Linked DNA regions of Homo sapiens: all the other regions are linked to region 1. Evidence: promoter capture Hi-C in 16 types of primary human blood cells and fetal thymus (Javierre and others, 2016). All regions are on one chromosome and are shown on one strand. Each heading gives the region's core, a stretch centred on a gene start or on the middle of the fragment in contact. The rest is flanking DNA. Distances are from core to core; before and after follow the strand shown.

Region 1 (3,244 bases), core at 457-2,956:
AAGATCATCTGCCATATTTGACAGATGTTGGTAGACAACATCTTCTCTTCATGTTCCGTTGTTTGTAATTTGTTTTTACTGCTACCAGAACCTCTTACAATTCTCTACTCACTCATGTAAATACTAGCTGCAGAAGGTCTGGCAAAACTTTCTCCTATTTGTATATGTGTAAAGTGGTCTTTCCCTTACATCAAGTTAAAGAAAAAATACAGTTGTAATAGCTACTTCCCAATAGCCAAAGGGTTGTATTTGAAAGAGGGATGAAAATCACTCCAGGTACCAAGAAAAACTACTGTGTGATCTGGGACAAGTTATCTGCTTTTTTTGAGACCCACTTTTCTCATCTTTACAATGAAATAACTAAATTCTGCTCTCTAGGCTTGTTCTGAAGATTACTGAATATACATTTAAAGTACCTAGAAGTATTTGACACATAGCAGGAACTTAATATACAATTACTGGTATTACTATTAAGGATTAAGAAAGCACTGGCATGCAACATATTATATATTTGACAAGATTACATCATCTTGAAAAAATATAAGAAGTATTCTTTTTGTATAGTACTTTAAGGAGGATATTATTCATTTTATATCATTTTCCTTCTCACTGTGATATGTAGAATATATCACACCAAAATTGTGGTTGACCCAACACTCCAACCAGTGTCCTATTTTATTCACTCTGTATTTCTTAATCTATTCAATAAATATTACTAAATCCATTTGCTGTGCTAGATGCTGAGGGAGGTGTGTGACACAGCCTGTAGTCTAGTAGGGGAGGTAGGCATTAAATAATTAACTCCAGTCAATTTCAGTGCTATATATGAAAAAGACAATTCACTCCTTTTTATGACTTGACTTACAGCTCACAGTGCCCAGAAAACTGGGATTCTTGATAGAATGCGCCACATATATCCTAATTAGCAACAATCACTAGTTTGGCCCCATAATGTACATACCTAACACACACTTTCACAGGCAAGAGAAGAAAATACCTATCATCATATTATGATCAAAGTATTTTGAAGTAAAAATACTTCCTCATTATTTCTTAGAATACTGCATACAGCAATTCCTTTAAAAGCAGACTCTACTAGCATGTTTCCCACTGAACAGAACTGTTTGTCCATTTAACCAAAAGGTATTTATTGCCCGGGAATTCATTAGTTCATTATTTGAAGAAATACGTATATTGGGCAAGAATGTAAATCAGGCTGTTTAGTTATCACATGAAAATGCATAAAACAGTACCCACATTCAAAGAGTTCAAAGAGTCCTTCAGGAAATCAGGTGCCTAAAAGTCAAACTGACCTTTAAAAAAAAAATGTTCATAGCTTCCTCTGTTAAATGAATGATCGTTTCAGAGCTTTCTAAATGCCAAACTCTTTTAATATATTATTTCAATTAGCTTTCACAAGCACTTATGAGGCTTGTTGTATGTTTTTTTTTTCCTTTGAGACAGAGTCTTGCTCTGTCACCGAGTCTGGAGTGCAGTGGAGCCATCTCAGGTTACTGCAACCTTCTCCTGGGTTCAAGCAATTCTCCTACCTCAGCCACCCGAGTAGCTGGGACTACAGGCGTGTGCCACTGTGCCTGACTAATTTTTGTTTTTAGTAGAGACGGGGTTTCACTCTGTTGGCCAAGTTGGTGCGTACTCCTGGCCTCAAGTGATCCGCCCACCTTGGCCTCCCAGAGTGCTGGGATTACAGGCATAAGCCACTGTGCCCAGCTGTATCTTCTTTTACCGATGAGGACACTGACAGGTTGGTATCACCTCTTTCCTAGTCTATATTGCAGCCACTCCCTTATTGAAGTTTCTGACTCCAAGTCCTACTCATCCTAATCTACCTGCAGCTTTTAAGGTGTCATTTTTCTAAAACTTAAATATGATCCTATCATTGTTCTTCTTAATAGCCTACAAAGATTTCAGGGAAAATGAAAATGACGAATATAAATTATACTGCACACACTATTTATAATAATATTTAGCCACTTAAAATTAAAACACATAAAAATGTGGGTAAAGCTCATGGTAAAATAGTAACTACAAATAATTACAAGTCACAATCTTTGCAATTATGAGAAATGTTTAAGTAAGCACCTGATAAAAAAAAGGAAAAAGCAAAAGTGATAACAGTTGCTTAGAATATTGTTTCAGAACACCTTTTAAGGTTACCACACTGTTTTAATTTTTAAAGTGGAAGAGAAAGTGCTTTAGCACTGTTGATAGCTGCCACCCTGCCCTCAAGATAAAGTGAATCTTGAGTCTTACAGCCCTTTCTCATATCTGTATCAACATACATTTTAGCCTAATTTCTTACTAACTCCTCAGTATATTCTTGAACACTGCATTAACTTTCATGTCTAACTGCAAACCTCTGCCCATGCTGTTACCAGTGTGGATATGGTCTCTGGTTTTTCTACCTATTTAAATGTCACTTTGTATGGAATTCTATTTCATGTTTAGGCACACTGCATGAAATTATTACTTCAACTATCAGGTTCTTTCACAATTCACAACTTCTTGAGAGCATGGAACATATCCTATGTATTTTTAGTATTTTCTCAATGCCTAGTGTAAGACATATGGCAGAGAGTAAGTGTGCAACAAAATTGTGTTAATATTCATATTTTTCATAAGTGAAAACAATTTTTTTGTTGATATGATGCTTTGATGGTTTCTGATTTAAGGTTAGGATGTTAAACGGACTCTATTTTTACATGACCATAATTCTACTCCCCAATTCTGTTCCTAAATCTTTAGTGAGCTAAGAATTCAGATTCATGGTAAGGTTAGAATTGTGCTGGACTGCTTGTGACTTCAACTATCCATCTTCCATGGTCAGTTCTTGATCAACTGATACAGTTTGGGTGTTTGTGCCCTCCAAATCTCATGCTGAGATGTATTCCCCAATGCTGGAGATGGGACTTGGTGGGAGGTTTTTGGTTTTGGGGGTTGGCTCTCTCACGAATGCCTTGGTGCCATCCTCACAGTAATGAGTGTTCTTGTGAGATCTGGTTGTTTAAAGAGTGTGGACCTTCCCTCTCCTGTCTCCCTCTCTTGCCAAGTGATACATGGTTCCCCTTCACCTTCTGCCATGATTGTAAGCTCCCTGAGGCCCTCACCAGAAGCAGATGCCAGCACTACGCTTCCTCTACAGCCTGCAGAACCATGAACCATTTAAACCTCTTCTCTTTATAAACTACCCAGTCTCTGACTGCATGCAGTGGCTCACACCTGT
Region 2 (3,244 bases), core at 235-2,734, 490 kb after region 1:
CAAGAGATCACAGCTATACAACCCAGTGAATAAACTTTAATACTTCTTTATTCTTCTATGCCTCGGTTTCCTCAGATATGACATGGGTGTCATTTTAAGTGAGAGGTGAAACTGAAAGAATGTATGAGTTGGGATTTACAGAACGTTCTGGTTTTAAAGAGGCTCACAGTGCAGCAGTTTTACACTTTAACTGCAAAAGCTAAGAAAAAAGTCACAATAATGAAAACACTCTTACATTTTTGGTTTAAACAAAGAAAACTGAATAAGTATATGACACATCAAAGTCCCAACAATGCTCAGCCTTTCAAAATTTGCTTTTGAAGCTTACTACATTAGGAACCACATGATATCGGAAAGTAAACTGATCTTAATGAGTATGATTTGAAAGACATACTTCAGATATTTTTAAATTCTCAACATGAATTTGTCTTGGACTTTTAAAGTGGGTTTATTTAAATTTCTCAAAAGGAATAAAAGTTCACTAGTTAAAGTAAAATATAAGAAAAACCAGCAATATGGAATACACCTCCAATCTTCAATACATCTCTAATCTATGTCTGCAACAAATCTGACTGCCATAGAATTTTATGACAATAAAATATCAAATGATTTATGGTAGCCAGAAAAAAAAGGAAGTATTTACAAAACAAACTTATAATTTGTGGAGAAAGGCAAATCCACAATCTGACTTTAAACTCTGGGAATAAAAGACATTCATTTCTGGGCATACATTCCTAAAGGGCAAAATCTTGAGATGCAATCCTGTGATTACTGTACTTTTTAGGAATGCACATTATATTAATTAAATATACAACATCATGTCAAATGTTATGCTTTGTCACTAAAGAAAAGCCAGGCATATTTAGTTAAAGTACTTAGAACTAGATATCTAAGAACACAATTGTTTATTGTACGTATCTAAACTCCAGGTATCAGAAAAGCTCATTTTCACATTCAGCTGGAGGAAAAGTAGTATTTATTTGTTAATTAAAGGGTAAATAACATTTAAAAAGAGAAAAAGTTTTCTAACTGCTGAAAATATATCCATCGCTGTTGAGACATTAATAGTTGCAACTCTTGAATACATGTAAGTTTAATTATGCAACTGGTAGAGTTCAAACTTTCAATTAACAAACTACAAGCCTTTTCAAGCGTAGGCTCTCCGTGCAGTGACAAACACTGTGCAGAAATCAATACTCACTCCAACTTGCCTGCATATAATGAGTTACATCAAGCACGGTTTCAATGCTAACGGGCATTATATGTCAGAAATGCATGCAGTAATGCTTACTCCAGAAAGAATTCAATTAAACCATTGGATTATTTTTTGCATAGAGCTGTTACCCTCTGCGTACATCAATTATATACAGGGCTTTTCCTCTGCGTGCTGCCATTTCATAATCTCTGCCTGAATGTACGACACATGCTGCCACCTGAATCTGTTGTTTAACTCCCTTTACAGAGTTCTAAATGGGGCGGGGGTAGGAGAGCAATGGAAGGGAAATAAACGATTACTCCAGAAAACAACAATTTGAGTTTATTTCCAGGAAACAGGGCCTCCACAACAACGTGAGAAACTGTCAGGTACAAAGTAAGTTATTTGCGTCCTGCGGCTTCAGCCAGGAGCGTGGCTGTCGCTTTTCCCGTCTTCTCCATCACCCTCTGGCCACCACTGCGTCTCCATCTGCACCGCGAACCCCAGCAGCAGATGCGCTCGCCAGCCAAGCGAAGCTGGGTAGGTTGGCCAGAAAAGTTGTCAGGACTGGCGGGAGGTAGACAAGTGCTCGGGAGCCCGCTCCCCAGCGTCCACCTGGTGAAACTTCAGAGCCCCCAGAGGAGAGAACGAAAGAAGCAACCAACCTACACGAAGGATAACAAAACTGGAGGGGAACAGAGGGCGGGACCGGGAGAGCCAGGGTTCACGGACTTCTCTGAGCGGCTTGACCGAGAACCCCCAGGGCTACAGCGAGACGCTCCACTTGTCTCCTTTTGGGTTCTCCGGCAGAAGGCAGACATTTACAGTCCGCTTCCAGCCCCAGGCCGGATCCGGGGAGCGCGGGGCCAGAGCCCCAGGCCGGATCCGGGGAGCGCGGGGCCAGCCTGGCGGTGGTTTTGCCCGAGGAGCGGGCTCCCACGCGCGAGTCAGGCTTCCTCCACCAGGCGCCCAGACCTCGATGCCCATGAACGCTCAGAGTGGGTCCTTAGAACCGCATTTCAACACATCTTACAGGGCTCCGCCAACACACACACAGAACATGCTCCAAGCAGTGCCCGAGCGCACAGGGCAAGCCCGGGAGCAACCCAGAGCTGGGGGAGGAGAAAAGGGGACTCCGGGAGGGACGGGGAAGTAGTTAGACAATAGTCAGGGGAGGTTATTCCCGGGACAAAAAGCACCTGGCAAAGCGCGCCGAGGTCAGTCCCTTCGAATCTCCACATTTCTGACAATGGCTTCCCAGGGAATTTGTTTAAACACCCAAGTGGCAGACAGCAACAAACCCGCACCACAAGCAACAGAGTGCCGTCACGGGAGTCGTAACTACTTTTTCTTTCTCTCTTCCCCACTAGCCCGGCGCAGGCCACGCGAGACGCCGAAGCCAGCAGGTCCCCACACTCTCCGGCTAGACCGTGCCAGCCTGAGCCCCGAGCAAGCTTCGGAGAGGAACAATGGGTGCCCCGCGTCCCACCTGGCACGAACTCTGGGGACAGCCCTCCCTCTACCCTGTGTTCCCCACCCCCGGACAGAGAGAGCTCCCCACGATCCTTGTCCCCAGCCCTAGCGGGGACCTGGCTCACCCCTCGTGAGCCCAGGACTCCAGGCGTTCGTCGGGGACGCCCCCCGGCCACTCACCTGCGGAGAACTGGCCTTGGGCCGATCCCAGGAGAGGCCAAGGAGAGAGGAGCAAGAGCGCCACAAAAGCAGGCAGCGCCGCCGCCGCAGTCGTATCCATGCCGAGTTTGGGAGAAGTTTCAAGCAGCTTTGCAAAGAGCTGCCGGGGGGATCGCCGCGAAATCCACGACGGAGGAGCGGGCCGGGCCTCGCGGGGTGAGGACGGTGAGAGGACAGCCGCCCGCCCGCCCTTTTTCCTTCTTCGCGGTCGCCAAACTACCTCAGGGGCGAAAGCGTCGCCAGCGTCGCCGGCCGGCCGCGGCGGCAGCTCTCCATGCTCGGCGGAGGCTGCTCCTGTTAGTCAAGAGTTACTTTGCTCGGGGAGGGACGGGGGCGGAGCCGGGGGTGACGTCGCCC
Region 3 (3,244 bases), core at 315-2,814, 320 kb after region 1:
TAAACTTGCAGAAACTGGAGATGAATTTACCGTGAAGAAGGGTCAATGTGATATGTTGATTTTTTTTCATTTGTTTGTTTATATGTTTTTAAGAAGCAGGAAAGTCAAACCTATACCAGGGACCTTTATGGTTTTCATTTAAACTGTAAAAGTCCCCATGTGAGTATGTGTATGAGGGGAAGGGGACAGTAGATAAATACACGGTAAAGCAATCTCATCTGTCAGATCTTTTTTAAGCTCACTTACTGTTTTTCCTCGTGTAAAACATGGTTTTAAAAGAGAGAAATACATTAATATCCAACCCACTACAAACTGAGCTACTAAGTTACATTATCAGGAAATAAACTTTTTAAGAAATCTAAAAATTTCCCACATTTTATTTATTTATAACACTCCGATCTCTACGTTGTAATTAAAATTTAAAAGTGCAACCATCATAATATTCCATAAAATAGCAACATTAATACGTCGATTTTATTTTTGTTCATAAAGTTTATTCTAAGTTCTTGAAATCTTGCTTTATCAGAAATACAATACCTATGGGAATTAGACTATGTCAGTTACCCCAAGGATATGACAAAAAAAGTTAAGATATGGCTTTCAAGTACAGATCATCTATTGTAGCTTTGACACAACACATATACTTTTATAAAAAGCTGTGGAGAATAAAAATATTCAAGAGTCATTATAGCATTATTATTACAGAAACATGAAATGAGGCTACATTATTTCCAAGTACATACTTATTTATATAAAACACAAATAAATTTTCCAATTAATCAATTCAGTATATGAAAGAACGCAATATTAAGAAACAAATCTGATTAAGCAAAGACCCAAAATGTAAAATTCTGCCAAAAAGAAGCTATTTTAGTCAAATCCAGATGGAGACTACTAGATGAAGTTTTGAACTCAGTATCCACCATCTCTAGTCCAATAAAAAAGTGTCTTTCACTTGCAAATAAAATGGTTGTTAGATATATTAAAATAATTTCTTTTCATTATATTAACATAACAAAAACCCTTCCCCAAATCTTTAAAATATATTTGTACTTAAAAACTATGTTTATTGTATTTTATTCATGGTGAATATTAAAGCCATAAGTTTACAAAATTTTCTGTAAGAATGACAATCCGTTTCCTTTTGTAAACTGAAATATTTTAGTTTGTTAACAAATGTATGATCGATTTTTATTTTTCCCTATTTCCATTCTTTGAGAAGTTTTACTGGAAATATAATCCAATATAATGGTCGAATTGAAGAGAATTACTTTTCAGTTACTTATTAAGTATTTTTAGCTATTTCTTTAATAAGATATGTATGAAAACCTGAAAGCTCTATAACAATTTGTTTAACTTCTAAATTGGAGGTGGAGTAAATCAAACTTCCTGTTGAACACTGATAAGAAAAATAATCACTAATTTGGCTACTGATGAATAAAAATATGTAGGCACCACAGCATAGAAATGACTGTGTCCTTATTAAATAAGAAAGCGAATAAAAATCCACCTATCTAAGAATGTTAGTAATTGCTAAGGGCTTTTGCAAACAGAGATTTCCATACTATACTTGCCCTCCCTTATTCCACATAAGAAGGCAATTACCAGAAAAGAAAGAAATGAAGGTAAAATCATGAAAAGAAGTATGAATAAGGCATAAGACAAAATTCCCAAGAGAAACCTAAAGAACTCAAATCTGATGTCCAGAAACATGAACAACACTTCACTGTCAACCTAGAGCAATGGAAAATAAACTATAGCAAACCTAAAATCATGGAGTGTTACCATTCCTCACACCTCTTCTGCATATTCATTTAATCAAGTGTAAGCAGGAAATAAAACACTGAAATATATTTGCCCATAAATATTCCCTAGTAGATTTTTTTCAAGAACTAAATCTCCCTGGATAGTGGTTTATAATTGAATGTACAATTGCAGATGAATGAGAGATTATATCAACAGGAAAATACAGAAATTCATTGTAGTTTAATGCTTTCATGATCTCTGCCTTATCTTCTCTTTTATTGTACCAAATATAAATAATTGAACAAATGAAATGTGAGGTGAGAGGTGCCCACTGCAATATTTTAGGTAAAGAGCTGCTGCTGTTTTACCACCTTAGTTAAAAAACAAGCCAGCATATCCTCAGAAGCTGATTCTGTTATAAGGGAGAGAAAGACAGAAACATATTCACACCGTTCAAAAAAAAAAGAATAAAAAAATCATTGTGTCATAGGCTTTATTTGTAAAATACATGAAAAATTTTGATGAAAAGAAGTGCTGTTGAAAGGGTATAGGCGTTATAGTCTATTTGTTCTGTTTTACTTGGGTAATAAGGAAATTTTAAGCATTTAAAATCTATTTAAGCATTGGGATTTGGGCAAGGTTGCCAACTGTGGAAACTCTTTAATGATTATAGGAGACTTATGGGTCAGGTGACCACATAAGTCTTCCTCCAAAGCAAAACACAGAGTTTTGCACAGAGAAACAGGGCACTATTAATAAATATTCCCAGGCTACAGGTATGAACCATTACTGTCCCGGGAAGAATAGCACATATGGGCAATCCACCCACTAGTTTTAGAATGTGGAGCAGCACTGAGAGGCAATCATGTACTAAGAAAACTATGTACTAAGTCCATGTCTATGGACTGATACATGCATTCACTTGATGGGGATGGCAGAAGGGGAGAAATAAAAACTCCAAATAGCAGGATGGGAGCCAGAAATAACAGGCCAGAAAAAGGAGTTGGAGGATCAAAGACACTAGATTTTTACAGGGCACCCATGGGCTAGCTCACAGCAAGGTAGAAAGTATTAAAGGTAGCAATCAGGGTCAGATATAAAAGTGTTCTTAATTTTAAAGCCTTCAGTGTTTTGTAAGAAGCAATCAGCAGGTATTATATATGTTGGAGTGCAAAAGTAGAAGTAGAGGAAGGTAATTTTGTTAAAATTCAAGAACAGGAGACTTATCAACAGCATCAAATGCCCTTAAAGGAAAAAGGAAAAGAAAACAGAAGGTAGAGGCAGTGCACAGAAAGGTATTCATCAATCCAACGACCACTGATAGAATCCAGTAATGAGTATGCTAGATCAAGGCTTCCAAACAGATGGATGAAAGGTGCAATCTGTCTCCAGAAATGTTTTGTTTGACATGCACAGTGCTTTGTAAATATTTAAGCCAATGTTTTTAAAGAAAAATTCAACGTAACAATTGGTATTTCTAGTTACTCTAGAATAACTT
Region 4 (3,244 bases), core at 321-2,820, 320 kb before region 1:
TAAGAATTTTATTACACTGAATCCCTTTCATCCAAGAAGAATCTATGCTTTCTCATAACTGAAATTGAAATATACTCCAGGTATTAGTTTACTTTTCCTTTCCACAGTGCCTCAGCCAGCACCGCCACAGAGGGGTCACAGAATTTCTGTTCTCCCAACATGATATCCTGTGTAATATCATCTCAGACCAGGTGACACAATTTGTCACAAGGGAGATGCAACAGTGGGATATACCTATGGGACTCATTTGTTGTATCATAGGGTACACAATTTGGAACCTGCTGGCCTCTTGGATTTGGAACAAATTTTTGAAGGTTCAGCTGAGGGATCAACACAGTAGTATAATCCATGCTCCAGGGTACCCTTAGGATCAGGCTGGAAAGATTAGGTTGGAGTTCTTATGAAACCATGTATTTATCTAGATCCTTCTCCTATCCTGCTGACTTCTTCCACTTCCATACAGATTTCTCCTAAGAACACTCCAATAAACCACTGAACGAGTATCTTCCCCCTTAACCTGTGCTTCTAGGGAACCTGAGCTAAGATAACAAGGACTAGATGAGTATTTGTCATGGCACATAAGAGTGGAAGTGGGAAAGAAAGAAAACTCAAAGAAGAAAAGATGCAAGACTCCAAAACTAAAAAACCTTGATGTAATATTTTATATATAATTTAGAACATATATATATTATAAAATAAAAACACATAAATGCATTGAGGACTTACTTTTTCTCAGACAAAGCTCCAAGCACTTTACATCTATACATTCATCAAATTATCACAACAACTCTACAATGTAGAGTCTATTTTAGTCCCTATTTTACATATATGTAGGAATTTGAAGCAGAAGGAGGCTCACAAACTTATCCAAGGCAACCCAGTAAACAGGGAGTCAGTATTCAGACCTGGGCAGTCTGGCTTGAGTTCTCATATTCCTAACTTTAATCAGTTCATTCAGCAAACACATATTGAGTGCCAGATATATGCCAGACACTATTCTAAGTGTCTGGGTGTAGTGCAGAAACCAATAAGAAATCCTGCCTTCAGGGGGTTTACAGTCTAGTGTAAAGGAGACAGAAAAGAAACAAGACATGTAAAAGATATAGCTTGTTAGATAGAATAAACTATTATGGAGAAAATTAAGGCAGGGAAGGAGATAGAAAGACCAATAAGAGTTGAGGTTACAGTTTGAGATAGGGTGGCCAGAGCAAGGCACATTGAGAAGGTAATATGTGGATAAAGCCTAAAGGAAGTAAGGGAGTGACCTGTGTGGAGAGGAGAGCAAAAAGTGTTCCAGGCAGGGAGAACAGCAAATGCAAAGGCCTCAGGGTAGGAATAGCCCTGGCATGGTTGATGAATAATGGTGTATTAGTCCATTCTTACACTGCTAATAAAGGTATACCCAAGACTGGGTAATTTATAAAGGAAATAGGTTTAATTGACTCACAGTTCAGCATGGCTGGGGAGGCCTCAGGAAATTTATAATCATGGCAGAAGGGGAAGCAAACACGTCCTTCTTCACATGGTGGCAGCAAGAAGTGCCAAGCAAAAGTGGAAAAAGCCTTTATAAAAGCCATCAGATCTCATGAGAACTCACTCACTATCAGGGGAACAGCATGGGGGAAACTGTCCCCATGACTCAATTACCTCCCACCAGGTCCCTCCCATGACACATGGGGATTATGGGAACTACAATTCAAGACGAGATTTAGATGGGGACACATCCAAACCATATCAAATGGGAAGGTCAGCATGACTTGAGCAAAACGAATAGGAAGAGTACAGAGAGAGAATGGGAATGTATTGTGCACACCTTTCTAGATCATTTTAGGAATTTTGGCTTTTACTCTGAATGAGGTAGGACATGACTGTGGTGTGTAATAATAGCACATATTTTAATGAGATCATTCTGGTTCTCACAATCAGAATAGATTGATAGGTAGCAAGGGCAGGAACAGGAAGAATTGTTACAGGGTTTTTGCAATAATCCAACAGAGATGACTGAAGTTTGGACCACAGCAGTAGAAGTAGAAGCAGTCAGAAGTGTTATAGTTGTGGAAATATTTTCATGGTAAAATCAAAAGAATATTTTTATTCTATTGGATTTCATTTTTAGTAGTCCAGCCTACCGGGGTTATAATTAGATCCTAATTCTGACTCTCCCCAGCGTTTTACATGTTATCATCTTCCTTTTAGAGGCAACTTGAACCAAGAACCTTTGGTTAAACACCTAAAAGTCTCATTATATGTTGACTCTAATCTTAAAGAGTTTTTCTATTAAAATCCTGGATGTAAGAGTTGAGCTAGCCCATCTCAACAATCACATTTTCCTCTTTCCATTTCTCACTCCTTTCTGACAGCCTTTTCCAAAACTGCTTGACTGATTCAATTAGGAAGAGGCCAATATTAATAATTGGTAGTTTTGGCACCTATCTATGCAGCTTGGCCATGCTGTGAAATTTGGTCATTATGACTGAGCTCAGCACTGTAAGTCCATAGGGGATGGAGAGGGCAGGGAGGACAATCTCCCTCCTCATGGCTTTTTTAGCACAAGCAGCCCCCTCCTTAGTGAACAATTTATTTCAATTCTAGTTAAAGAATATTTTAACTTAATCGTTACAGGAAGATAGTTATTCTAGAGTTAAACATAGAAGAGAACACATACAAATAAAAATTAGGAAGTTTATTTTCAACCTTCCCAAATCTCCAATAGGTGAGCATGAAGTTTATTACACTTTTCAATATCAAGACAACTGGAAACACAGTATGTGAAAGGACTTATATTTAGAAATGTTATATATGATTTCTATTAGAAAGCCCTTGATAATTTACAACCAAAGTAAGATATGCATTCTCTTAATTTTCTAATCAAAGAATGGTAGTTACTAAAAGTACAAATTTAATTGTTCTCAAATTCCAAACAAAAATATTAATTATTCACTATTGTTTGAAAAATAACAAATTATATGAGTCTAAAAACACCTATGGTGCAGTTTGTCAAGGCTGTTAGGTTAAGATTCGCTGTGGCCTTCAATAACCAAATGTGGGTCTTAGAAAAGTTTCTGTTCTTATCTGCACAAACAGGCAAAATAAATAAAAGAAAAACTGTCCCATAAAACTTTAGACATTGTAGATAAGAAATGATATTACCACAATCAAATCACTAAGCAATTTTTAGGACACTAGAAATCAGGATTCATTGTTACTTAGAAAAAATGTAAGGTAAAGTAAGCTTAATCAGAAT
Region 5 (3,244 bases), core at 470-2,969, 300 kb after region 1:
AAAACAAAACAAAACAAAAAAACACCTAAGTTTATGCTTGTCTCAGTCTCCATGCACTGGACCTTCCTCTGTTTGAAATGCTCTGTCCTCAGCTGGCTGATTTTCATCATTCATCTATTGGTGCAGCATTCCTAGGTCTGTTAAAGTAGTTCCTTCCAGGGTTCTTTCTAACATATCACTTTTTATTATTTCCTTTATAGCACTTTCCACTTACTGAATTTATTTGTTTACTTAATTGAAAAACTCCATGAAAAGTTGGGATTTCATGTATGTTGTTCATCCAAAAATCTAGAACAAGGTCTGGAGTATTCAGTTTGAAGTTGGATGTTTTATAAAAAAGTCGGACAACTATCTATTTGTGTTTCCTGCCCTGCATTCCCATAGCACTTACATAATGCTCTTTTATGTACAAAATATACCATATCTGTCTGTGCATCCCCAAAACCCTAGTGCAAGCTTTTTAAGATTAGAAACCTCTTTGGCCTCGCCAGCCCCTAACAGAGGGACTGTGTAACCTGTAAACTTGGCAAGCTCCACTGAAGGTAAGCAAAAATATTTTTTTAAGTATTGTTTTTTTTTCAAAGATAGTCAAAGAGAAAAAAAAAGAGTAAAATTTGAAATGATAATAAGCAAAATTTTCAATCTTGAGAATAACCCTAAAATACTCCATTAATTTGGTTAGACGGACATCAGTGCCATCACTTTTTGTACAGTCTAGTTTTAATTCTTCGAGCTTTTACATTCTATTACTTCTTAAGATGGATGCTTCTCTTCTAATGAGGTCTATCCCCTACATCATACAGTTTGTTTCTAAGACAGTATGAGGCAAATATTACAAAATGTCAGAAAAAGTTAGAAAAAGTAAACTTGTCCCCCAAACTTCAAATTAACTGAATTTGCATCTTTGCAGGAGTCTACTTCCAACAACTTTAGTATCCGTGACATGTCCCTCCCATTGCCTTGTAAAAATATAAACCTGTTTCCTTCACAGTCCGAATGACAAAATTTCTCTTGATCTCTGAGGAAGTGCTTTGTATTTGTTCTAGGTAGCCAGTTTACATTTGAAAATAGAAAAATGTATGGATTTAAGATAATAGCTTCTAAAAACCTTCAGGCAACACAAAAAAACTAAAATGAAAGTTTCAGTAGAAAGTAGCAAATTTCTCCTTCTTAGGAAGTGGGTGTCCTCATGGAATTTACCCGCTACACTACACATTAAGATTTAGAAACCTGGCCAAGCATTGTTTTATAGTTTAATCCCCTTCCCCTACTACATCTTAAGGAGACAAAAAACAAGTACTTGGCCATTACTTTGACGAACAAAATTTCCAGTTTCATCTTTATGACATAGGAAACCTATGTCATAAATAGTTAAAAGGATTAGTGCCATCTGTTTCCTATTTAAAAGTGGCTAATTTTATAATAGGTTTTGATTTCCTTTCCAGTACCTTCCAGGACTCCAATTTTCCCTACTTCCTACACATCTATTTACTTGTTTATCCTGGGCAAATAATTTAACCCCTCTCTGTCTTGTTTCCTCATCTTGAAGTGCCCACCCCACTGAGGTCCGGTGTGAGGACTAAATGAGACTACCTCCATGATGTGCGAAGGCACACTGACGAGAGGAATAGATGGGTCTTCAATACTTGTTCCTTTAGACGTACTCATTCCTTCTTCCACCAAACAGTAAAGAAAATAAAACTAGAAAATGTATGAAGAGAATACTTTCGAAGTTTAAAAATGAGATGACAATGTTAAAGGGTGGTACACTTAAAAACTTCCAACTTAATGGCACTTAACCTTCATAACCTTTCTTAACCCTTCCCTTCACAACTCTACCTATCCCTTTCATCCCAAAGTGAGTCAGGCCTCTTTCTCAGTCTTATCCTTCCTATTCCTCTATAACCCTCCCTCTCTCACTCTTTCTTTGAAATCTGAAGTAAATTTAAAGTATTGTTGCCTCAACGCCCACTCCAAGAAACACACACACTTACTTCACCAACAATTTCAAAGGACTCATTGATCTAAGTTTAAGAACTCTTGTTTTAAGATTTTTCCAATTTCTGAAATCATGGCACTCTCCTACAGCTATCCAACCTGCACAGCTTTTATGTTACATAGTAGTGAAAAGTTTTGAGAAGTAGCTGCTAAAAAGAAAAGCAACTTAAGAGAAAATAATCAGTAACATGACCCAAAAGGCAATAAAGGCTTTGTCCTGTGGCCAATTTTGTAATCATCACTCACCTTTCCAAAAGATCCAAGATTGAAATGAACAATTAAAGGTAAGAGAAGGTAGTGTGGCCTGTATTCCCTGGAAACTGCCTGAAGACTAAAAATCATGCTAACAATTCCCACCTGTTGTCTGGATATACTTCAACACTGTTAAACATTAAAGACCAGAACTGAAGGTCTAAAGAGAATGAGTGCACAACACATCTATGATTTCTATGTAAATGAATATTCTCAAAGTCAAAACATTCTACTCGGTAGTCACATTATTTCTGAAGGTACCAAATTTTTATTTTTTGTTTCCCACTGCATATTAAAGTTATGTTTATACAATACTGTAGTCCATTAAGTGTGCAATAGCATCATGTCTAAAAAAAAGGTATATAAGATATATAAAATATATACCTTAATTTTAGAATAGTTTATTGCTAAAAAAAATGCTAACAATCATCTGAGCCTTCAGCAAGTCATTATCTTTTTGCTAGTAGAGGGTCTTGCCTCAATGTTGAGGGCCTTGCTCTGGATTAGGCTTTGGCTTAAGGGAATGCTGTGGCTGGTTTAATCTCCTATCCAGACTACTAAAACTTTCTCCCTGTCAGCAATAAGGCTGTTTCACTTTCTTATCATCTGGGTGTTCACTGGAGTAGCACTTCCAATTTCCTTCAAGAACTTTTCCTTTGCATTCGAAACTTGGCTAACAGGAACAAGAGGCCCAGCTATTGGCCTATCTCAGCTTTGATATGCCTTCCTCACTAAGCTTAATCATTTTTAGCTTTTGATTTAAAGTGAGAGACCTGCAGTTATTCCTTTAAGTTGATAATTAAAGGGCCACCGTAGGGTTACTAATTGGCTTAATTTCAATATTGTTGTGTCTCAGAGAACAGGGAGGGCTGAGGAGAGGAAGAAAGACGGGAACAGCCAGTAGGTGGAACAGTCAGAATACATACAACATTTATCAGTTAAGCTCACCATCTTATACGGGAGCTGTTCGTGGTGCATGAAAAAATTACAACAG
Region 6 (3,244 bases), core at 514-3,013, 280 kb before region 1:
AAGCAACTGGCAGTAGCGAAAATGATAAAAGATATTGCTACAGAACAAGTGAAAACAATTTAAACACATTCTAGGTGGAACAGTCAAGAGGATCACATGAAATACAGGGAGAGTGGGCAAGGAGGATATGAGCCATTGTGGAAAACAGTATGAAGGTCTGTCAAGAAATTAAACACAGAATCACCAGGCTGAGTATGGTGGCTCACACCTGTAATCCCAGCAATTTGAGAGGCTGAGGTAGGCAGATCACCTGATGTCAGGAGTTTTGAGGACAGCCTGGCCAACATGGTGAAACCCCGTCTCTATCAAAAAATGCAAAAAGATTAGCTGGGCATGGTGGTGTGTGCCTGTAGTCCCAGCTACTTGGGAGGCTGAGGCAAGAGAATCACTTGAACCCAGGAGGCAGAGGTTGCAGTGAGCGGAGATCATGCCACTGCACTCCAGCCTGAGTGACAGAGTGAGACTCTGCTTAAAAAAAAAAAAAAACAAACAAAAAAACAAACAAAAAAACAAAAAAACAAAACAAAACAAAGATAGAATCACCAAATGATGTAGTAACTCTGCTTCTGCTTATGTATATTTAAAAAAAACCTAAAAGCAGAGACTCTAACAGATATTTGTAACTAATGTTCACAGTAGTATTATTCACAACAGCTAAAATGTGGAAGCAACCCAAATGACCATTCATGGATGAATGGATAAACAAAATATTTTACATAGATACAATGGGATATTATTCAGACTTAAAAAGGAAAGTAATTCTAACACATGCTACAACATGAATGAACCCTAAAGACATTATAGTAAGTGAAATACACCAGACACAAAAGGTCAAAGATTGTTATGATGTCACTTACATGAGATACCTAGAGTAGTCAAATTCATAGAGATGGAAAGTAGAATGGTGGTTGTCAGGGGCTGGGGGTGGGGGAGAAATAAAAAGTTATTATTTAAGGGGTACAGATTTTAGTTTGGGAAGATAAAAATGTTCTGGAGATGGAGATGGTGGTGATGGTTCCATAACAATGTGAATGGCCTTAATACACTGTAACTGTATACCTTTAAATATTGTTAAAATGGTAGAAATTTGTATTATGTATATTTTACCATGAATAAAAAAGAATATGAAGAATATTCCTTCTTGGATTTTGCAAAAATCATTTATTAAAAAGACCAACATATAGAAGAATAAATTATTTTAGAAATAATATATAGCACATAAAAGGTGATTCATTAAAGAAAGGTGAGAGAGAAAATGGGCTATTCTCCTGAGAAGGGCAAGCAACCTAATAAGAAATTGGTCCAAAGAACACCAAAAGGCAAAAACATCACTAGGTGACTGTCTTGTCCAGGTTAAAATAATGATATCTCAGATACAGTGATGGTTTTGCATTAGAGCCCCTTAATTTTATCACTTGACTGCTACTCTTCTGGGCATAAAACATGCCAGATACGAAGCCTAAGCCTAGGAAAATGCCATCACCCTCAATTTTTCTCCCACGCAAAGCCAAGTTAAATGAAAAAGTCTGCTTGACATTCAGAAATTTACAGATGTGAATGAAATGAAGGGAGAAAGTTCATTTAGAAATATGACTGGTGTTTAAGGGGAGTAAGAGAATGAGATCTCTGGAAAAAGAGTAAGACAGAATGGTGATGTTCAGAGGATACACCATTCAGTCCTTAAATGTAATGGGAGTATAAAGGGTTTCTTAGGATAGAGTCTTTTAAGAAAAATGTACAAGTGGTTTTTTAGTTGCTATGGTATTAGCTTTGCAGGCAGATGCTGAATTCAAACAAAACTATAGACATCTTATTGTGCCCCCAGGCTGCTTCACATATGTGTGATGATGAAAAGGATGATGATTAAAACAAATTCTTTTATAAATCTTATCCCAAATTCCTGAGGTACACAATGCATCATAAATGCGAATCATTTATTAGGAATTATTTCTGTTGAATACAATATATAAATAGTAAAAAGCAAGTCTGTTTTTCTAGTCATTTCCATGTTATGACTACAGGTATTTCCCTAGGTTAAAGTGCGACTCACTAATTTTACTTTGAACAATAAAATATATTATCCTTTAAAATGTTTTTTGTCTAGGAAAAGTAGATAGTAAAGACAAAAAACTGAAATCTGGAAATAAGACTTTTATTAAGTATTGAATAAATGTTGACCAAATTTTCAACATCTGGTATCAGGTACAAGGATCAGTGTTGACCCTAGAACAGACTGTTTATTGACTGCACCAGGAAATTATTCTCCAGTGAGTTGCAGAATCTTCAACTGTCTTTATTGGGTTTACCAGAGTCTGGCCACTTTGTTCAGGATGTTAAAGAGGGGTTTATTCTTTGGAAATTTTTGGTGGAAACAACATGTGTCTTTTATAGTCTCTTCTTGATCATTTTGTCTCTGTCAATTCCTCAGCCTCTCTTAATATCCTTATGTTACCCCCAGGCTCTTCATACTGCATCACCTCCAAGAAATGTACAATTGAAAATAATGAGTGAAGACTAACAGTGACATCTGCACTTCCATGTTCATTGCAGCATTATTCACAATAGTCAGATTGGGGGACAATCCATATGTCCATCGACAGAAGAATTAAGAAAGAAAATGGGATATATTCATACAATGAAATATTATTCAGCCTTTAAAAAGAAGGAAATCTTATCATTTGTGACAACATGGATGGACCTGGAAGGCATCACACTTAATGAAATAAGTCAGTCACAGAAGGACAAATACTGCATGATTCCACTTACATGAGGTATCTAAAATGGTCAAACTTGTGAAAACAAGAAAAAGAATACTGATTGCAAGGGGATAAGAGGAGACATGAGGTGTTCTTGTTCAATGAATATAAAGTTACAGTCATGCAAGATGGGTAAATTATAGATATATGCTCTACAATATAGTGCCTGTGGTTAACGATACAATCCTGTGCATTTACAGATTTAAAAGGGTAGATCCCATGTCAAGTGTACTTACACACACATACACACACACACACACACATTAGCAAAAAGATTCAAGGAGACTTTTGGAGGTGATGAATATGTTTATCACCTTGATTGAGATATAATTGTAATATCAAGGGTGTTTACTTATGTATATCCAGACTCTTCAAATGGTATACCTTAAATATGTACAGTTTTATTGTATATCAATTATATCTCAAAAAAGTTGCCAAAAGAAAAAAGAAATGAAACAATGGAACTTATGTCAACATGGCTCCTGAGC
Region 7 (3,244 bases), core at 260-2,759, 280 kb after region 1:
TAGCAATATCATACACATGTACATGAATGCTCATAACAACATTTTTAAAAATATTACCACTAGAAAACCAGAAAACAACCCAACTATCCATAGACAAATGACTGAATAATCAATTTCAGCTTATTCAAAAATAGAATGCTATACAACACTGAAAAAAATGATTACCACTACATAAACCTGGATATTGACTGGGAAAAAAAAATCGAGTAGCCAAAAAATATACAAATCATGATACCATTTATAAAACATTTGTTAACTGTATAAAACAAAATATTTGTTTAAAGTAAATTAAAGAAAAAAGAAACAAAATGATGAACAAAAAATTCAAAATACTACATTCCTTAGGATAGAAGGAAAGTGATTAATAGAGAGAAACTTTTAGGAAGTACTGGTAAGATTAAGTCGATTTCCATAAAACATACATATATTATTATTATTTATATTTCCTGATTAGTCATGTATAAAATATTTCACCAAAAATAAATATTAATAAAAGAAAATTAAATACACGAACTGCTTGCATTTAGAGGAATTTTTTTTAAAAAGGTGAAAAAAGAAAAAACGATCAAAAAAGTTTACCAAAAAATAAAGGATAGTATAGGCTTTTATATCTAAGGAAGGAAGGAGAGTCCAATAATCTCAAATATTACATGGAAGTCAACGGGAATAAGGACTTGGGAAAAGTCAGAGATATCTCATCAGAAGACAGCAATTTTCGACGCATGAAAGGAATAGCAACCAAGTTACAAGTTATGAGACAATTTGAAAGGAACTAGAGGCATTAAGTAAAAACCACCCTACGAAGTCCAGCTATGAAGAACATATGTCCAGAAAGACAGGGCAAAGTTTTTCACTGTCCTTCTGTACATCAATTCTTCTTAAGTTTCATAAACTTTCGCCAAGCTTTGCAGCTGAATGAAACCTTTACATATTTGCAAAGAGACAGGTAGGCATCAGTGGACACGTGGTGTACACCGGAGTAGGCCTGGAGAAAAGAATCAAAGATTCAGGAGAAGGCAGATCATTGTTAAGGTTACATGTCACTTTTAAATAAATAATATTATAATCTTGGGCACTAAAAAATGATAGGGTTGCCATTCTCTATATTAAATGTCTCACCACTCAACAGTCAAGTCAATAGGTTATCAATTACAACCCTGCTAGAGAACAACTTCTTAATTCAAAGATTTAATATTTTTCATTCTTTTTTCACTTACCACACAGTCTAATCCAACTGAGCATTCACTAGACCTTTTTAAAAACTGAGACCAACTAAAAGACATGGTACAGACATCACCTCTCCTACTCTCAATTCTCTTAACCCCTGGTGCAAGGACAAAATCTTTTCCTAATAGGGACATGGTTCCTCTTGGAAGAGGAGTGGGAAGTGAAAGTTAGGGTATAAATGGGGCTTCCTGGAACAAAGCTGATGGCAGAGAGGGGTGGGGGAGCCTAGAGTCCAGGAGTAATCAGAAATCAATTCAGATCATCTAGAGAGTAGGAAATCATTACAGACCAGATGCAGGAGTCCTGGTCTGCAACCAACGTTCGGACCCTACACAAGGCAATGGCTATGCTGAAGTGTGGTAGCTGCTACATAAAGCAGCTTGCTGACCTCCCCACACTGGAGTTACTGCCGTCAAAGTCTGTTACCTCAGCAGCTGAAATAACTTCTCATCAGCCTCTTTGTTTTATATTATGGAAGGAGAGAACCTTAAAAAAACTTAAGAATTAAAAAATGTTGTGTGGCCAGCTTGTAATAAGAAGTACAAATGTCATTCTAATTCATATTTTCCAAACCATTCCCTCTGAATTAAGATATTCTGATTTTTTTTATTTCTCCTTCTCATGGCTAATAAATTAACACCATTTTTATAGAAAATTTCCAATTCTCCCTGGTACCAGTTCACTCCCTCCCAACAATATGATCACAAAAAATGGTTTAAGTAATCTCCCTTATCCACTGTCTTTCTAGTAGAGGTAATAAGATTGAAAAATAATATGGAAAGTTCCAGTCTCGGTGCCTACAAAAAAAATGCCATCCACTTATATGCAGGCTAATCAGAAATGCAAAGGTACTAGACAATGAATAGCCTTTCTCTTATCTTTCTTTTCTAAGCTTAGTGAGCTACTCTGTCTTTACCCAACAAGCACATGCTTTATTAAGTTAGTTATAGATGACTAAGCTTTTACTTGGATAACAGGGGAAGTAGATTGTGCCTTCTTTCTCTCTGATTTCTGGTCACTCCATAAGATAGCTGATAGATATACATGGTCTCACTGGGTGTAGAGATGATTTGTTAGGATTTATTGGCTGAGGTGAGAGGATTGTTTCTGTAACATGAGCTCTCTCTGAACTAGAGTGAGACCCAAGGCTGAAACTCAATATACGGCATAACCTCTTGACAAGGGTAGTCCACTGAATTTCAGTTAGCATAGTGATAACTAAGAAGCACAGGATAACGTTGCCTTCCGTATCCTTTGCTGGATGTTTTTCCAAAAAAACAAACAAACAAAAAACTCCGAACAAGGAAGACACAAAAACAAACTCATTTAAAAATGCTGTACCTTACACAACTCAGGCCCATAGCTAAATAACTCAACTGGCTCCAAACTGGGAAGCAAATGGCAATGAAAAAGCAGAAAGGACCTTTTGCTGCACTGTGAAGGCAGCCCACTGACAATTCTCAGAGGCAAGTGGCACCGCAAAAAGGAACTCTCAACATGAACAAGGAGCTTCCTGCTGCCAATCAATGGAGTACTCTTGGCTGTATGCTGAGTGAATGCCATTTATTAACTGGGCTGCATTAAAACCAGCAGGTCCATTTGTGAACAGCAACCCACTTTATTCTCCAGGAGATCTTGGGGAGTAGCATGCCCTTCTATGGCACAATGAATCTTACTTGGCATATTGGACACAGAACTTGTCCGACTTGGAACCACTTGGTACTTAAAGCAAATAAAGGATTAGAACACCCAGGTGTAGGAGATTAAGGACTTAACAGGCAGATGGAGGAGAAGAGCATAATCTGGACATCCTTCAGCTTTTATTATAAGGGAAAGTTCCCCCGGGATCCCAGCAGAAAGAACAAACTTAAATGAACAAAATTTAGCAATTCTGTTGACAAAAGAATATTTGAATAGACTTTTAAAAAATATGAGTTTGTAAGCCAAAAACCTGATTACCTTTCATAACAAAAAAATAAATCTCTACCCAAGAGAAAGGGAACTAAGTAACAAAAAT

What was found. Contacts are between HindIII fragments. The CHiCAGO score rates a contact against its expected background, and 5 or more counts as called.
Region 2: a fragment that was not itself captured here is called in contact with the fragment with the promoter of PTPRK-AS1 in region 1 in 4 of 17 cell types (fetal thymus, naive CD8 T cells, naive CD4 T cells and 1 more); the score reaches 10.9 in fetal thymus.
Region 3: a contact is called between a fragment that was not itself captured here and the fragment with the promoter of PTPRK-AS1 in region 1, in 2 of 17 cell types (fetal thymus and total CD4 T cells). The highest score is 6.7, in fetal thymus.
Region 4: a contact is called between a fragment that was not itself captured here and the fragment with the promoter of PTPRK-AS1 in region 1, in 1 of 17 cell types (naive CD8 T cells). The highest score is 5.4, in naive CD8 T cells.
Region 5: a contact is called between a fragment that was not itself captured here and the fragment with the promoter of PTPRK-AS1 in region 1, in 1 of 17 cell types (non-activated CD4 T cells). The highest score is 5.4, in non-activated CD4 T cells.
Region 6: a contact is called between a fragment that was not itself captured here and the fragment with the promoter of PTPRK-AS1 in region 1, in 3 of 17 cell types (naive CD8 T cells, non-activated CD4 T cells and total CD8 T cells). The highest score is 8.5, in naive CD8 T cells.
Region 7: a contact is called between a fragment that was not itself captured here and the fragment with the promoter of PTPRK-AS1 in region 1, in 1 of 17 cell types (non-activated CD4 T cells). The highest score is 5.7, in non-activated CD4 T cells.

Annotation. Positions count from the first base shown.
Region 1 is chr6:128,026,159-128,029,402 of GRCh38, forward strand. PTPRK-AS1 (PTPRK antisense RNA 1) reads left to right here and starts at 1,707. Exons shown (of 5, transcript NR_125849.1): 1 at 1,707-1,765. The region is part of intron 13 of PTPRK (protein tyrosine phosphatase receptor type K); the gene reads right to left. The HindIII fragment of the contact is 8,791 bases long and covers 1-3,244 here.
Region 2 is chr6:128,517,411-128,520,654 of GRCh38, forward strand. It overlaps PTPRK (protein tyrosine phosphatase receptor type K), which reads right to left and starts at 3,189. Exons shown (of 30, transcript NM_002844.4): 1 at 2,849-3,189. The coding sequence starts at 2,948. RefSeq lists enhancers at 2,363-2,956, 2,957-3,244. The HindIII fragment of the contact is 2,326 bases long and covers 322-2,647 here.
Region 3 is chr6:128,347,438-128,350,681 of GRCh38, forward strand. The region is part of intron 2 of PTPRK (protein tyrosine phosphatase receptor type K); the gene reads right to left. Among named protein-coding and RNA genes, the nearest start is that of PTPRK, 170 kb to the right of the region's middle. The HindIII fragment of the contact is 3,565 bases long and covers 1-3,244 here.
Region 4 is chr6:127,705,532-127,708,775 of GRCh38, forward strand. It overlaps THEMIS (thymocyte selection associated), which reads right to left. Exons shown (of 6, transcript NM_001010923.3): 6 at 2,669-3,244. Among named protein-coding and RNA genes, the nearest start is that of LINC02536, 43 kb to the left of the region's middle. The HindIII fragment of the contact is 3,320 bases long and covers 1-3,230 here.
Region 5 is chr6:128,330,886-128,334,129 of GRCh38, forward strand. All of the region lies in intron 2 of PTPRK (protein tyrosine phosphatase receptor type K), which reads right to left. Among named protein-coding and RNA genes, the nearest start is that of PTPRK, 190 kb to the right of the region's middle. The HindIII fragment of the contact is 2,530 bases long and covers 455-2,984 here.
Region 6 is chr6:127,741,843-127,745,086 of GRCh38, forward strand. The region is part of intron 4 of THEMIS (thymocyte selection associated); the gene reads right to left. Among named protein-coding and RNA genes, the nearest start is that of LINC02536, 80 kb to the left of the region's middle. The HindIII fragment of the contact is 4,802 bases long and covers 1-3,244 here.
Region 7 is chr6:128,307,941-128,311,184 of GRCh38, forward strand. The region is part of intron 3 of PTPRK (protein tyrosine phosphatase receptor type K); the gene reads right to left. Among named protein-coding and RNA genes, the nearest start is that of PTPRK, 210 kb to the right of the region's middle. The HindIII fragment of the contact is 1,216 bases long and covers 902-2,117 here.